2 separate regions of the Homo sapiens genome follow, and region 2 is linked to region 1. The links are contacts of gene promoters, found by promoter capture Hi-C in blood cells and fetal thymus (Javierre and others, 2016). All regions are on one chromosome and are shown on one strand. Each heading gives the region's core, a stretch centred on a gene start or on the middle of the fragment in contact. The rest is flanking DNA. Distances are from core to core; before and after follow the strand shown. Region 1 holds the start of PAQR8 (progestin and adipoQ receptor family member 8). Region 2 overlaps TMEM14A (transmembrane protein 14A).

Region 1 (7,649 bases), core at 3,228-5,727:
GAGGCTGCAGTGAGCTGTGATTGTGCCACTGCACTCCTGCCTGGGTGACAGAGTGAGACCCTGTCTCAAAAAAATAAAAAGTAAATTGAAATAAAAAAATTAATTTAAAAATGTTTTTAAAAAGATAGATGTTTGAGGTGATGGGTACTCTAAATACCCTGATTTGATCATTACATATTGTATGCATATGTCAACATTTACATGTACCTCATAAATATGTACCATTATTAGCATCGATTAAAAATTTTAAAATAAATAAATTAGATAAGACTTTTAAAATAATGCTAAGTCCTTTTATCATTTATTCTTATAGTTTGCCATCTGAAACTCTTCAACTAGGAACTAGTTACATTAGAGAATGAGAGATCAGATATAAGGCCTCAAAACCTCACATGTGCCCAGGGCTTACGGAGGGCCCAGGAGCAATTTCTACATCTCTTTTTTGTCTACATGGGTTAATTTATTTGCTCCCTGAATTGTTATTATTAAAAGTAAACAAAAAGGAAAAAATGGCATGAGCAATTCCTAATGAAAATCAAATTAGCTTTAGTGAGCCCCTACCATTCCACCATTAAATGGATAAAATAGACAGACAGTACAAGAAAATCATGATTTTTATTTTTAATCTGACTAACCACAGTTCTTTAGCATCCTGTATGTGAAATTAGTATCATGGTTACTTTTCCCAGTTGGCCATTTGGCAGGGGATCTAAATAGAAAAACTAAGTATGGATGGCTATCTGATCATGGAATGTCAAGGAATGATGGATTTGACTTCACGGTAAAAAAATACAGACATTCAAGTTTCCCCAAATTCTTCCTATGTAGTCCACTGGGATAGTATATCTTTTCTGCAAGTAGAAAGCATTGAAACAAAGATCCCATAAACAACCACCTAAGCTGGGCACGGTGGCTCACGCCTGTAATCCCAGCACTTTGGGAGGCTGAAGAGGGCAGATCACCTGAGGTCAGGAGTTCGAGACCAGCCTGCCCAACATGGCGAAACCCCTGTCTCTACTAAAAATACAAAAAAATAGCAGGGTGTGGTGGTGGGCACCTGTAATCCCAGCTACTCAGGAGGCTGAGGCAGGAGAATTGCTTGAACCCGGGAGGTGGAGGTTGTAGTGAGCCGAGATTGCGCCATCACACTCCAACCTGGGCGACAAGAGCGAAACTCCGTCTCAAAAAAAAAAACCCACTTAAATGAAGTCATTGTCTTTTCACCCATTTAATCAGGCCTTCATTATAAGATATGTGGGTACAATTATTATTTTTGTGTTAGAGATAAGGATTCTGAAGTATAGAAAAGTTAAGTTACTGGCCAGGCATGGTGCCTCATGCCTGTAATCCCAGCACTTTGGGACCAACATGGCAAAACGGCATCTCTACTAAAAATACAAAAAATTAGCTGGGCGTGGTGGTGTGTGCCTGTAATTCCCGATACCTGAGAGGCTGAGGCACAAGAATTACTTAAAAAAAACCCCGAGAGGCCAAGGTTGCAGTGAGCCGAGATCATGCCACTGCACTCCAGCCTGGGCGACAGAGTGAGACTGTCTCCAAAAAAAAAAAAAAAAAGGAAGAAGAAAAGTTAAGTTACCTACTGAAGGCTCTTACTCCCAAGGCCACACTTTTAACCACTATGCAAAGTGCCTCTCCTTTTCTCTGACAAGATAGTGAAGAAATTAATAGTCCTCAGTCCTTTCATAAGATATAAAAAGAAAACAAAAATAGTACAGCTTTTAAATAACTCTTCACTGTAGCAGTTTTCACAAACAGGTCTACTTTTAGTATAAACCAGTATATATACCAGAATGTTCCAGGCAAGTGGTTTTAACTATTTCACACTTCCATTTCTCCATGTTACAATAAGACTACCAGTTTTTACCCCTTTCCTACTTCATATAAGTGTATGAAGTTGAGTAATATGATGTCATCAAACATACTTTGAGCTTCTTGGAAAAGTGATATGTAAACACAAAGTAGAGTGTTTATAAAAACAGTGTCAATGTGGTATGTATCCAATGTAAAATAGATCAAATTATTTTATTAGAGATTCGGACAAAAATAACTCTTTAATCTTATCTATTTTTTCATCATTTTGCATACTGCCTGTGTCTGTGGCTTTCAAGGGCAATCTGAAAGGGAACTAGGTCTGATACGTGTTGATTGGATTCGCAGTTTAGCATTCTCCTTATTGAGGAAATACTGCAGTACCCAAGATCTTGGCTGTTTCCAGGTTTTGGAAAAATCTCAGGTCAAAATTGTGTTGCCAGATGGGATTATTACATAGAGGAAAGTTGGCTGTGAATTTCCATATACCAAAGGCCATCCTAACTGTCTTTTATGAAGGACCCAACAGGCTTTTATTATAATTCAAAAATAGCCAGGTCACCCTAGGACTTTTTCCAGTGTTACCAAAACATCACTTTTACTGCCCAAACGGAAGTAGGCCATTACCTCACAGTAGAAAATAAAAGAAGCTAGCTTGAGACCAAGGTAGTTTTAAAAGGCATGAAGGATGAGAACCACCATTCTTATTTAGTGGCTCTGGACAGCGTCACTTGGAAACAGAACTGCCTCATGCACAGATAACAATGCCTGACACCCATTACACTTTACATGCACGTTCACATCTGCCTTTTGGATAAAGGGCAAGAAGAAAGGAACATTTACCATTGAGAAAGAATTAGAAGCCTTGTTAGTCTCCTTTTAAGACTTCTTCACATTCCACATGGATTAACTGTTAGGGAGAAAAACACTGCAAAAATAATCAGCAATGCATTTCGGAGGCTCATCAGCTCCCGGCTGACAGCTCACGTTAGTTGGATGAAGGCTGTGGATAGGCTTTTAGATGTGCTAACCTGTAATTTTGTTTCTAGAGTGGCCCAAAGTGGAAGGAGTTTTCACTCCCTCTCAATAAGCCCTCTTGTACGGTTGTGACCTCTGGCCTATCATAGGTTTTTGACGATAAAGGAGAGCCCGGGTTTTTGAGGTTAAGGGAGAGTTCCCTGACATCTTTGGGGTGAAGAAGAGATGGAGGGAGCAAAGCTGCCAAAGACCTCCTGTGACATTTCCACTAGTATCCACCTATAAGTAAGTGCTGGACTATGATTCCCTGGGGAGATCAGTGGCTCTAAAGACAGGCCCCTGGGCTCTTTCCTGGCTCTGACTCAGCTTCAAACCTGCCGTGCAACTGCTCAGAGTCTAAATGTCTTCATTTATGGAACTGAAATAATCCTGCTAAGATTACTTTCTTTGCTTCGTGATGTTTGCCTGAGAATAAGTAGCTGGGACTACAGGCGTGTGCCACCACGCCCATCTAATTTTTGTATTTTTTGCAGAGACAGGGTCTCACCTTGTTACCCAGGCTGGTCTCGAACTCCTGGGCTTAAGCAATCTGCCCACTTTGGCTTCCCAAAGTTCTGGGATTACAGGTGTGAACCATCACACTCGGCTAAAATGTTTTGAAAAATGGAAACATTGTACAAATGTGAGATGTTGTGCAACATGTCACTGAAACACGGTGGTATAAGAGAAGTTTTGGGAACCAGCAGACCAGAATTAGGCCTGAGAAAATCTTACAGTAAGCAGACCAGAATTAGGCCGTCTGAGAAAATCTTACAGTAAGCAGACCAGAATTAGGCCTGTCTGACAAAATCTTACAGTAAGCAGGCCATCTTCCCAGGCCTTCTCTTTTCTCCAGATAATGAAGAAGGCTTTTTAAAAGCAAAGCCAACTTGATTTGTTAATTGATCATCCAACTTCTTAACTGTCTTTTTCTCATGGTAAAATACCGAGAACATTGTGGGTGAGGAGCAAGTCGGGAGGTGGAACCCACCCCCGCACCCTGCCTCCAATAGATTGTATGTGTGGGTCGCTATTGCTGGGACCCACGAAGGCTGTGGATTGAGGACACAGGGTAGAAGTGGGATCTTCTGCAGGTCAGTGTCAGATGTGTCTGTGTGATGTAGTCATGGGAGAGGCGCGAGTCTTGGGCGGGTGTATCTTAGGGGTGTGGAAGTGTCTGCAAGGGCCTCCGTGGTATGTCATCACATTATTTATATCATGGGCATGACCCTGAACGTTCACCCGAGAGTGGTGAGAGAAAGGCCAGGATTTAAATCAGTCTTGACAGCGCAGATGAAGTTTGTTATTGTTTTCCGCCCTTCCCGAGGGACTTCGGAAATGGCCCCCTGAGAGGTGAATTCTTGGAAAGAATATGAGGGCGGTTAAGGCGTCTCTGTCTCAAACTCTCCGGATTTTTTGCAGCTACCAGGGACTGCGAGGGTCTGCGTCCTGGGTGGAAGGAAGCGGCGTCAGTCAACTTCCTCGCAGCGGCGGCAGCGGCGCGGGCTGCAGCGGAGCGCGCGGGTCTGCGCATCCCGCCCCCGGGTCGGGAAGGGGCGGAGCTGGGCGTCACCCGCCCCCGGCGGTCTCCTCCTCCCGGCCGCTCCCCCGAGCCGAGCCCGCCGCGGTCACAGCCACCCGCGGGAAGCTCGTGGCCGGGACCCCGAGGCGGGAGCGCGGGCTGGGCCGGGCTGGGCTACGCGCACGGGCTCGGCCGCCGCCCCTGCCGGTGAGTCCCGCCGCGGGAGGCGCGGAACGGGTCGAGTTGGGTATTGGGACCGCGAGGTCGGGGAGCCCCGGGGCCCGAGCTCGGGAGGCGGGGACGTCAGGATCGCGGCGTTGGGGAGTCCTCGCACCCCGAGCTCAGAGGGGAGGTCCAGAGTCGCAGCGTTGGGAACCTGAGGCCAGGGGCCGGAGTTTAGGGCCCCGATGTTGAGTCTCCGAATCCAAGCCCGGAAGGGGGGACGACGGGTTAGGATGCTGGGGAGCCCTGGAGCTCTGAACGGCTGTAGTGGGGTGGCCAGGACTGCGATGCTGGGGAGTCATGGAGCCTGAGCCTGGAGAGCTGGCGGGGGTGTGGGGACCGCGATGTTGGGAAGGCTGAGCCCGGAGGGCGGGAGATTCAGGACCAAGACGTGGGGGAGTCCGACAGGGCAGAACGAGGGGCGTCCTGTCCGCATTTGTGGGGCGCCCTCCGCAGGGCGGAGGGGAACGGAACCTGGGAGGGGAGTGCGGAGGAGAGGAAGCCCGGGGCGGTAGGGAGAGCCCGAGGAAGGGCAGCCCGAGGTAGGGGAACCCCGGAAAGAGTAGGGTGGGTCTAGGCATGTGCTTTCGCCGGGGAAAGATGGAGGGGGCTTCTCTGAGAGGGTGGGCGCGAGGAGCGGAGTTGTGATGGGAACCGCCGGCAGCTGGCTAATGGGCGGATGCTGGGGCTTGGCTGGATGGGAACGCCGCGGTGGGGTGTCGGAGGTGGCTGGTGGGGCTGGAACGCTGGGAACGTCTGTCTAGGCTATGAGAACGCAGCGCCCTCGGTGGAACAGGGTCGTAGATAACTCGAGAGGGAATCTAGTCTAGGGAGCAAGACCGGGCATCCCCAGACGGAGGCGGGTGGGGACCTCGCACTCAGCGCGCTTGGGGAATATTCGGAGCCTGGGTTTGGGGGCTGCTGCACCTTGCCGACCCGGTGCGGGGACCTGGAGGTAGCCGGGCACAGCAGCTTCCTGTGCAGCTGTGGGTGCTCCAGGCACTGGCAGACTAGTGGGAAGTCCAGGAGCCTTGGCAGGCTCATTGTCTTGACCTAAGTTGCATTCCATATTTCTTAGCTGGGTTAGAAATGATTTTGTCCAGGAACCCAATGAGAAGAGCCTGGGCTAAAAAAATTAGTTATGGAGTGAGATTTCAAATGTACAGGTAATACCTACCCGTGTGTGTGCGCGCCTTAGGGATAACTCATACAATACACTGTATGTGTGATTTTTAGACCCACGTGTGTACTACTTGTTCCAGTACTCTGAGAAGCTGTTTCTGGGTAAAAACGAGGAAAATCCACAACAAATACACACACCAAACAATGTCCACAAACGCACTGCATTCCAGTCGAGTTAAACATGAGAGTATTGTACAGTTTGGGAGTATTTGCTTGTCAGTGAAGACTCCTGTTACTGAAGTTAATAGGAGTTGCCTGCATGGAAGGTAGACTGCCCTTGACTGCCCTGTTAAGGTTATCCACAACGTGTACCCAGCCCTGAGCTGCTGCACCCTTGACCAGGTCAACTGGAAGGGAGCCAGACTGCTTAGGACCTCAGTGGATGAGTATCCAAGTGTGTATCTAAAAACAAAGGACCAAGGCATGGCTTTGTTTTTGTTTTTGTTTTTTATTTCTGCTGTTTGTCCTTGGGTGCGTGTCCTTCAATTATTAGTTAAATGTTGACTATCTTACATTAACCCATCTTGTATTGTTAATTATGTATGGTAATTATTTCAGTTATTTGGCGTAACAACCAATTCTGGAAGACCCAGAGTAGAGGAATCTTATTAAGTGGATATATCCATTGAAAGATATGTTTTTTTTTTTTTTTTTTTTGCGGGTGTGTGTATGCACCAGATTTCCTTCTGGTGCATATAGGTCCATCTTCTGACACACACTGAGATTTGAGCTTCATTGGATAAACAAGGATTATTTTGGCAACTAGCATTTGTTGGGTCTGTTTTTAATTCATGAAAAGGAAATCTTTAATAATTATGCAAGTTAACAGGATAGAAAGCGATTTATTCATTTTACAAGAATCATTTCAGGATAAGCATATTTCCATTAAGGGTGTGTGTATACCTTATTGAGTGGTCAGGACCTTGCATCAAAATCTGCACTATCATTCCTGCAGCAGTGTACTTATTCACTTGGACGTAACACTTGCTGATGCTTCCAATTCTTTATCCAAATGTTAAAATAAATATGCCAGTATTTATACATTCAAATCAGTATTTCTCCCCTTCAAAAGCCTGCTCTTGGCAAGCTGTGTACTAATTCTAGTGATGCTGTCACTACTGAGAATAATTTTGGAGCTCCTGCTTTGGAGTTGCCTTCCGAGTTTGCAACACATTTCCTGATTGCCTCAGTGGTGGCAAACCTTCCTCAGCTGGGAAACAGCCAGGCACTGTGCGGGGCCAACTTGGGCTTCCGAGGTGGGGAATCGAGGTTGTCAATAAGTATGCTCATTAAAGTAATGAAAATTCTCTTGAAAGACTGGCAGTTCTAAAAGGGGCATTTAGTAATGGCATGGAGTATGTATTTAGGATTGGAAGGAATTACAGTTGGTCCCTGAATAACACCGGGGTTAGGGGCTCCCATCATCTCCACAGTGGAAATTTTGAGTACAACATTTAACTCCTCAAAAACTTAACTACTTTGAAGCACAACCTTCATTTTGGTGTTTATGCTCTGGTATGTATGTAAAGTAATTGGTCCTGTCACTTTATTGTTATAGCTTATGGCTTATTGGGCTAGAAAAAGTAAGCCTTTCTTTGCCCCTCCTGATACTTGTTACTAGGCAGTCTCTGTCATTGTGGATTTTTACAGAAAGCAAAACAAAAATACAAAAGACTTGTTGTCTCACCAAAAAAAAAAAGGTACCCAGAAAGCCATTTGCCCCAGCTGTAGGTAATGCCTGGTGCTTGATTTTTGATGTGAAAGGATCCACAGAAGTAAAGGGAAGAGAATGATTTCTGAACATTCATTTCAACTTTGGGATTTCATGGCACACAGTAAAAAATGTACTGAACATATCCCTTTTTAAAATTCGCAT
Region 2 (7,649 bases), core at 2,212-4,711, 320 kb after region 1:
ATACATTTGAAGGTGCCTGTATCATACTAGAAGTAATGGAATGAATTCCTTTCCTTTTGGGATTCTCTTTGTGATCTCATATTTTTTTCCCCTTCCAGGTGGTGTTCCGTCTTTGATTGCTGGTCTTTTTGTTGGATGTTTGGCCGGCTATGGAGCTTACCGTGTCTCCAATGACAAACGAGATGTAAAAGTGTCACTGTGTAAGTAAGGCATTTTTCCTGGTTACAGAGACTCAAACATTGGAGGTGATCTTTTTGATACCCTATGCTAGATATACTAGAACATATTTAGTCAAATGGCAAATGGCCATATGCATGTGTTGAGGCTGAATACAACACTTATTCCTTTCTAGAAAGACCTGATAAAAAATGATGGTACTGCTACCAGGCCTTCCAACTCAGAAGAATATTTCTATAAAAACTCGTTACTAGAAAAATTGAATTAGGAAAAGCAAGGAATTATTTTCAGATTTTCTGCTAACTCTCCTAAATGCATATTTAGCATAGTTTTTACATTGCTGTGGAAATAACTAAAAAAGAGACAGCCTTGCATTATTTCATTTAATTCACAAACATCTTTTAGATTCTGCACTGCCTTAAGACTTAACCTAAAAAAGCAAGGCTGACGCTTTTTTAGCTACTTCCCTTGTTAAGTTTAATGGGAGAATATCCACAGAAAAAATGGAAACCTGTGTGTTTAAAGTCACCAGGACACTTGACTTTCATCTCACTTGAAAGAGATACACAGTGAAGATTTAGAAAACCATACCAAGGACATTTTCTCTAGTTGATTTATTATTCAAAGTGCCTTGGTCGTGTATGGAAAAAAATATAAATGAAGACAAAATTGTTCTATATTTGAAGGAGAGTGAGAGATTTGGGGTTTTTTTTTTTTTTTAGTTATTTTTATAAGGGGCTAGGGATATTTTTAGTAATGAGGTTGTGTTAGATGTATCAGCCAGATGTAGTGATATTAGGATTTTTATTGATATGCATTTAAATAGTTCACAAGTATTTATTGTCAGTCATTTTATTTTTTATATCAATAAACAGTTTTTCTTTGAAAGCTGTTTTTAAATTGTGGCATTGATGTCCTAATCTCTTACATAAAACTACCTCTCCCTTCATAGATACAGCTCCAAAAAGGCTGACATGATGCTTCTGAATAAAATACTATTGCTTAGACTATTATTTAGTCTCCAGGCATCAAATTCTCCAAAATGGGATGCTACAAAACAAAACCAATCAGCCTTCTTTTTAGTATTTTTTTTTTATTAATCAGATCTTACTTGTAAAAGATACATTAACTATTTTCTTTATATTCAGTTAACTGAACATTAATGAGTGTCTCCTGTGGGTCCAAGTGTGCTACTTAGTGTTTCTGAGGGAAGTTGAATAAAGCTCAGTGCTAGCCTTCAAGGCGTGTTCTTTGAATAGAAATTTAGGTTAGAAAAAGACTTTCTTAGCTAGGCATGGTGGCTCATGCCTGTAATCTCAGCACTTTTGGAGGCTGAGGCCGGTGGATCACTTGAGGCCAGGAGTTCAAGACCAGCCTGGCCAACATAGCAAGACCCTGTCTCTACTAAAAGTACAAAAATTAGCTGGATGTGGTTGTACATGGCTGTAATCTCAGCTACTCGGGAGGCTGAGGCAGGAGAATTGCTTGAACCCGGGAGGTGGAGGTTGCAGTGAGCTGAGATCACGCCACTGTACTCCAGCCTGGGTGACAGAGCAAGACTCTGTCTCAACAACAACAACAACAACAACAACAAAAAAAAAAAAAAGAAAAAGAAAAGGTCTTTCTCTTTTGAAGATATTTCAGGAATGGATTTTAACATGTTTGTTTACCCAGAAACCTTTTCGGCGAGGTAGATGATGATGAAGTGTTTCTTTGTTTGTTCTTTTGTTGTTTTTTTGAGACAGAGTTCGCTCTTGTTGCTCAGTCTGGAGTGCAGTGGCGTGATCTCAGTTCACCACAACCTCTGCCTCCCCGGTTCAAGCAATTCTCCTGCCTCAGCCTCCCGAGTAGCTGGGATTACAGGCATGTGCCACCATGCCCTGCTAATTTTTTTTGTATTTTTAGTAGAGACGAGGTTTCTCCATGTTGGTCAGACTGGCCTCAAACTCCCAACATCAGGTGATCCACCCATCTCTGCCTCCCAAAGTGCTGGGATTATAGGCGTAAGCCACTGGCCCGGCCATGAAGTGTTTTAATAGAGCACTTTATCTTTTCAAGACAATGGCAACTCAGTACCTATCCATAATAGTTGTAATGTTAGAAAGCTTTAAATGGTACCCGCTGTTTTCCCACAAGCATTGATAACATGTTTGAAACTCTGGTTCATGAATTAGTTTGGTTTTCAGTTACAGCTTTCTTCCTGGCTACCATAATGGGTGTGAGATTTAAGAGGTCCAAGAAAATAATGCCTGCTGGTTTGGTTGCAGGTTTAAGGTAAGTAAAACTATTTTGATCAATACTTTCCTCTGCTGTTGTTTTGAAGTGCTGAATTTTTGGGAAACATCAATTTTAATTTGAAAGATCAAAGTCCTTTTTGTTATAATAAGCATGACAGTAAAAACCTTAAGATAGCATGGATTCAGTGGGTCTTTGATATTGATGTACCCATGAACATTCTTATTGGATACGCATAGTGTTGCTGTAGTATCTGGTCACATAGGCATACTTGCCTTTTTCAGAAGAAAGAGCTAACTAAACTCAGCCTCATTTTTCCTCAAGATTCACCCATCTGCAACACTAAATGTGTTCATTTAAATCTAATACTCAGTCCCTTTTAGAGAGTTTGACAGAGTGACAGTGTGATACAGTTATTTCAAGTTTTTAAGGGACAGAAATTTAATATTTTTAAGAGTTTTTAAGAGAGAAGTTTTAATATTTTTTAAAAGATAAACAGAGGGCCTCAAGTTTCTCTTAATTTGATCCAGTAATTCTATCCATGAGATTAAGCATATTACCAAATAAAAATTTAGAGATAACATTTTAAAAATTTCTCCAGAAAGCTGGCTTTATATGTTGAAAGCCATAAACATGTTTATTTCCTTTGATAGACATTTTCACTTTTTGGAATTTATTCCAAAGCAGTGAGATATGCACAAAGACTGATGTTCATTGCAACTTTATTTCTAGTGAAAACACAATAGACTGAAAAATTAGGAACAACCTAACAGTTCACCAGTAAGGAGATGTTTGAAAAAATGTTTTGTCCATTTAATGGAATATTGAATGAGCATTACATTTTTATGTTTTCAAAAATGATTTGGTGGCATTGGAAAATCTTAGTGACATAATAAGGTATAAAAACAGGATGAAAACAACCACATATAGTGTGATTAAAAAAAGTTTGTGTATAAAAAAACAGGAAGGAAATATTTCAAGCTGTTAGTGTTTTTCTGTGGGTGATAGTGTGATGAATAATTGTAATGTTCCTCTTTCTACTTTTGTGTAGAATTTTCTAGTGTGACTATGTATTATGTTTCAGGGAGGGGAGGAGGAGTGTGATTACAAAAGACAGCTTTCCAGTTATAGCCCTGTTCTAAAAGTGATACTTGGTGGTGGGAAGAATCAGAAGTAGGGTTTATGGGCTGGGTGCGGTGGCTCATGCCTGTAATCCCAGCACTTTGGAAGGCTTTGGCGGGTGGATCACTTGAGGTCAGGAGTTCAAGACCAGCCTAGCCAACATGGCAAAACCCCATCTCTACAAAAATTAGCCAAGTGTGGTGGCGGGCACCTGTAATCCCAGCTACTTGGGAGGCTGAGGCAGGAGAATTGCTTGAGCTCAGGAGGTGGAGGTTGCAGTGAGCCGAGACTGCGTCACTATACTCCAGCCTGGGTGACAGAGTGAGACTCCATCAGAAAAAAGAAAAAAAAAAGGAAGAAAAAATGAAGTAGGGTTTATGGATCCGGAAGAAGGCCTCAGTTAATAGAAAGTAGCTGAGATTGAATTAGTAACTGCCCCAAGTTGGTCCTCGATTATTTTTTCAAGTTGCTTTATTTTACTAGCTTCTGAAAGTTTGTTTCTTCCCAAACCTTTCTCTTATAAACCCTCATCCAAGGTTTTCAGAACAACAGGTTCTGATTTTTCCTTATTCATTTAGCGAACATTTTAAAGTGGCTAATTCAGTTATGTCTGGGATGTTTTAATCCTCCAAGGGGTTGAGCTGGGAGAGCCCCCAAGCCAAGGATTAGTAACACTACTGGGTAGGCGAGTGCATGGCCCTTTCTGTCTTATGCCAGATAAAAGTGACTCTCCCTTTGTCTTTGTTTTATTTTAAATCCAGCCTCATGATGATCCTGAGACTTGTCTTGTTGCTGCTCTGAGCATCTGGAGGAACAGAAAACTAAGTTCATGTCATCCTGCTGTAATGGGCAGAGCATATTTTTTTTGTATTTAAAAGATAAACTTCAATATGGAATGCTAGAAACACAAATAGCACTGTCACCTCTAATATGAACATTAGTTTGAGGTAGTTTTTTTCTAAAGCAAAAATTTTAACTGTTTTCTAATTGTCAAGCACTATTTTCATTAAAAGTGTCTAATGAATCATGATATACTCTTCCATTTGTTGTGTCTATTTTTTATATATTTGGTATTTTTTGAAAATTCCAAATACTCATGTCTCAAGTAAGCTTAAACTACAACTTGTCACATAAAGGAAGTCTTAAGTGGAGTTCACAGAATGATAATGTATCTATTTGTCATTTGTGTTATATTTGAAATTATTAGAAATTATGCTTTTTCCATTTTAATTGTATTGCTGCCAGTGCTATTTTTTTCTTTAAAAAATTTTATTCTTAGCACACTGTTATGTCCTAACTGAATGTATTCAGTATTCAAATAAAAGACATTTTGGTTCAAACCTGTTTCTTTCATGTCAGTTTTTCCTCTGAATACTCAAATCATCTTTGACATTTAAATATTCAATTATTAACGAAAAGGGTTGAGAAGGAGGGTTTATTTAAGCCAACATTCTACTTCCTGAGGCGTAGATATTTTTTCTCTCTGAAAGAGTAACGATTCTGAAACAAACTGATTTTGTTTCAAATTACCACTTTATTTTTAGGCATAGTTATAACTTTTAATGTCCAAGGCACTTTTAGGGCCCAAATTGAACATCGGGAGACCTGAATCCCAGCCCAATTCTTCCACCCACTTGATGCTCTTTGGAAGGTCATTTCCTTTTCCTCTGACTCAGTTTCTCATTCTTAAGGAGGAATTGAACTAAATGATCAACCCTTTAGAGCTCTAAAAATCTACAGTTCCTATCCTGTTGGTTATGTGCAGTGGTGTCATACTTCAAACCCTTTCTTTAAGTGAAAGCGTAGGGTCCTCAACTGATAACGGCAGAGTTCATATGGTTCTGTTAGATTGGTTACCTTTCCCAACTGACTTTCAAGGAGGTTGTTAAACTTTCAGTGATAAGTAATTCAATTAAGGGAAGAAAAAAGCTGTACCAGTTGAACCGAATAGGAAATCTAGATAAAATTATTTGATGTACTTAAAAAAATCCCAATTTAAAGAAGAAGAAAGAAAATCCCATAAATCCTAATGGTGGCAAAGAGGTTGTTACCACAGGCAAGGCTGGAAAAAGCCGTCATCATTGAGGTGCTCTGCTCACTTGCTAGCTGTCAGAGATGACTGAGGAGAACCTTCAGATTCAGACTGACAGCAGCTTATAGTCAAAACTGATTACGATACTGAAGTAGAAACTAACTGTGAAATTGATCCTAGAAATACATGCTGTGTCTGCAGAATACTCTAGTGATTCAAAGTTTAAGAAACTGGTTTGAAGCTATGCTGTTCCCTGGACTTTTCCCAAAAGGTCATAGAAGTGAATGATAGTGATGTGTGTGCTTTTTTTGTTTTGTTTTTAAAGAAATCTTTGGCATCCATTTGCATATTTGTGATTTTACTCTTTTGCAATACGTAGAATCCAGAAGGATTCATATTTGGATGGCTCTGATTAATTGGTGTTTTCTTGTTTTATGAAAAGTAGAAGAGGCTCTGTAACTTACAGGTATTAGGCAGTTTATTTCCTCATGTCTTATTACTTTATTACATTAATGTGGCTTTATGATATTTTTATGGGTCTGCTACCAATGCATAGTGAAATATTTACTACGTTTCTTAGACTTTGTTTCATTTGTTAATACTCAGCTACTGTAGTGCTCATGTTTTTAAGAAACAGGCCATGTTCAAATTTAAATATATTCTTCACAGTCTCAATGGATTCTTCATCCAGTGGAGGCTTCCTTTGGCTTCCAGGTTGGAGAAATTTATTAATTGTGGGGATGTGGCTGATTCTGGCCTTGAATTTCTAAAATGCAAAAGAATACTATCCAAGAGAGAAGAATATAACAAAACAAAGTAAAATGCAAATGAGCCACATTCTGGTGGAGGTGGGGGATAATTGGGATTTTCATACATTGTGGACATTGCAAAGTGATACTGCCACTTTGCAAGTTAGCAATATTTCTCAAGAACCACAAAAACGTTCATAGGCTGTTACGAAGTGATTCCATTTTAAAAATTGTGTCCTAATGATGTAATCTTAAATGTGGAAAAATCTATACCTACAAAGATATTGTTGCAACACTATTTATAAAAACAAACATTCTAAAGCATCCTGGTATACAATAAAGAGAAGTCCTCATTTTTCTTATACCAGAAGCATTTTTCATGTTATGTAATCTTTGAAAACTTTAAGTGGCTGCATAGAATTCTATCCAATGAACATATCCTCATTTATATAGATGTTTCTCAGTTTAATATTAGACATTTAAGTTGTTTATGATTTTCACTATTTAAAATCAGGTTAGGCTGTGGCATGGGTGAAAGTGGCCACTTTGGCGGTGCCTCGTCCTCACAGCTAATGGGAAGCAAGCGTGTTCTAGAAAGCCAGAGTCTCCAGCGACCCCTCTTACCACCATCATGGCAGTCCCAGGTTGCAACAAGGACAGTGTCAGAGCAGGCTGTAAAAAATATGGCTTCCTGGTCACCTGACTTTTGAATGCTGCAACTTTCTCCAAGTAGACCCCAAAGGGACATAGTTTTGGATGTCAGCAGTGCAAACAGTGAAGATTGATGAATAAAATGAAGAATGAATAAATTGCAAGCATTACTGGAAAAAAAGAATAAATGAAGAGGAGAAGAAAAAGCAAAGAGAAAAGCAATTTTTTTAAAAAAGGAAAAGGTCTTATTCATCCAGTTCCACTGAAAAGGACATTTCAAAAGAAACAAAAATATCAGAACAAAGAAAAGAAAAAAAAAGCTGGGTGTGGTGGCTCACACCTGTAATTCCAGCACTTTGGGAGGCTGAGGTGGGTGGATCACGAGGTCAGGAGTTTGAGACCAGCCTGGCCGACATAGTGAAACCCTGTCTCTATTAAAAATACAGGAAAAAAAAAAAACTAGCCGGGCATAGTGGCAGGTGCCTGTAATCCAAGCTACTTGGGAGGCTGAGGCAGGAGAATCACTTGAACCTGGGAGGTGGAGGTTGCAGTGAGCCGAGACCACACCACTGCACTCCAGCCTGGGCAATAGAGCAAGACTCCATCTCAAAGAAAAAAAAAAAAAGAAAAAGTAAATCAAAAAAAGGAAGCCAGGTGCAGTGGCTCACACCTGTAATCCCAGC

Evidence for each region. Contacts are between HindIII fragments. The CHiCAGO score rates a contact against its expected background, and 5 or more counts as called.
Region 2: a contact is called between a fragment that was not itself captured here and the fragment with the promoter of PAQR8 in region 1, in 3 of 17 cell types (M0 macrophages, monocytes and M2 macrophages). The highest score is 6.9, in M0 macrophages.

The regions. Positions count from the first base shown.
Region 1 is chr6:52,357,674-52,365,322 of GRCh38, forward strand. PAQR8 (progestin and adipoQ receptor family member 8) reads left to right here and starts at 4,478. Exons shown (of 2, transcript NM_133367.5): 1 at 4,478-4,576. RefSeq lists silencers at 3,882-4,067, 4,241-4,730. The HindIII fragment of the contact is 8,624 bases long and covers 1-7,649 here.
Region 2 is chr6:52,681,715-52,689,363 of GRCh38, forward strand. It overlaps TMEM14A (transmembrane protein 14A), which reads left to right. Exons shown (of 5, transcript NM_014051.4): 3 at 99-200; 4 at 2,364-2,451; 5 at 4,296-4,874. The coding sequence ends at 4,335. It also overlaps the pseudogene GSTA8P and the pseudogene SREK1IP1P2. Among named protein-coding and RNA genes, the nearest start is that of TMEM14A, 14 kb to the left of the region's middle. The HindIII fragment of the contact is 2,362 bases long and covers 2,281-4,642 here.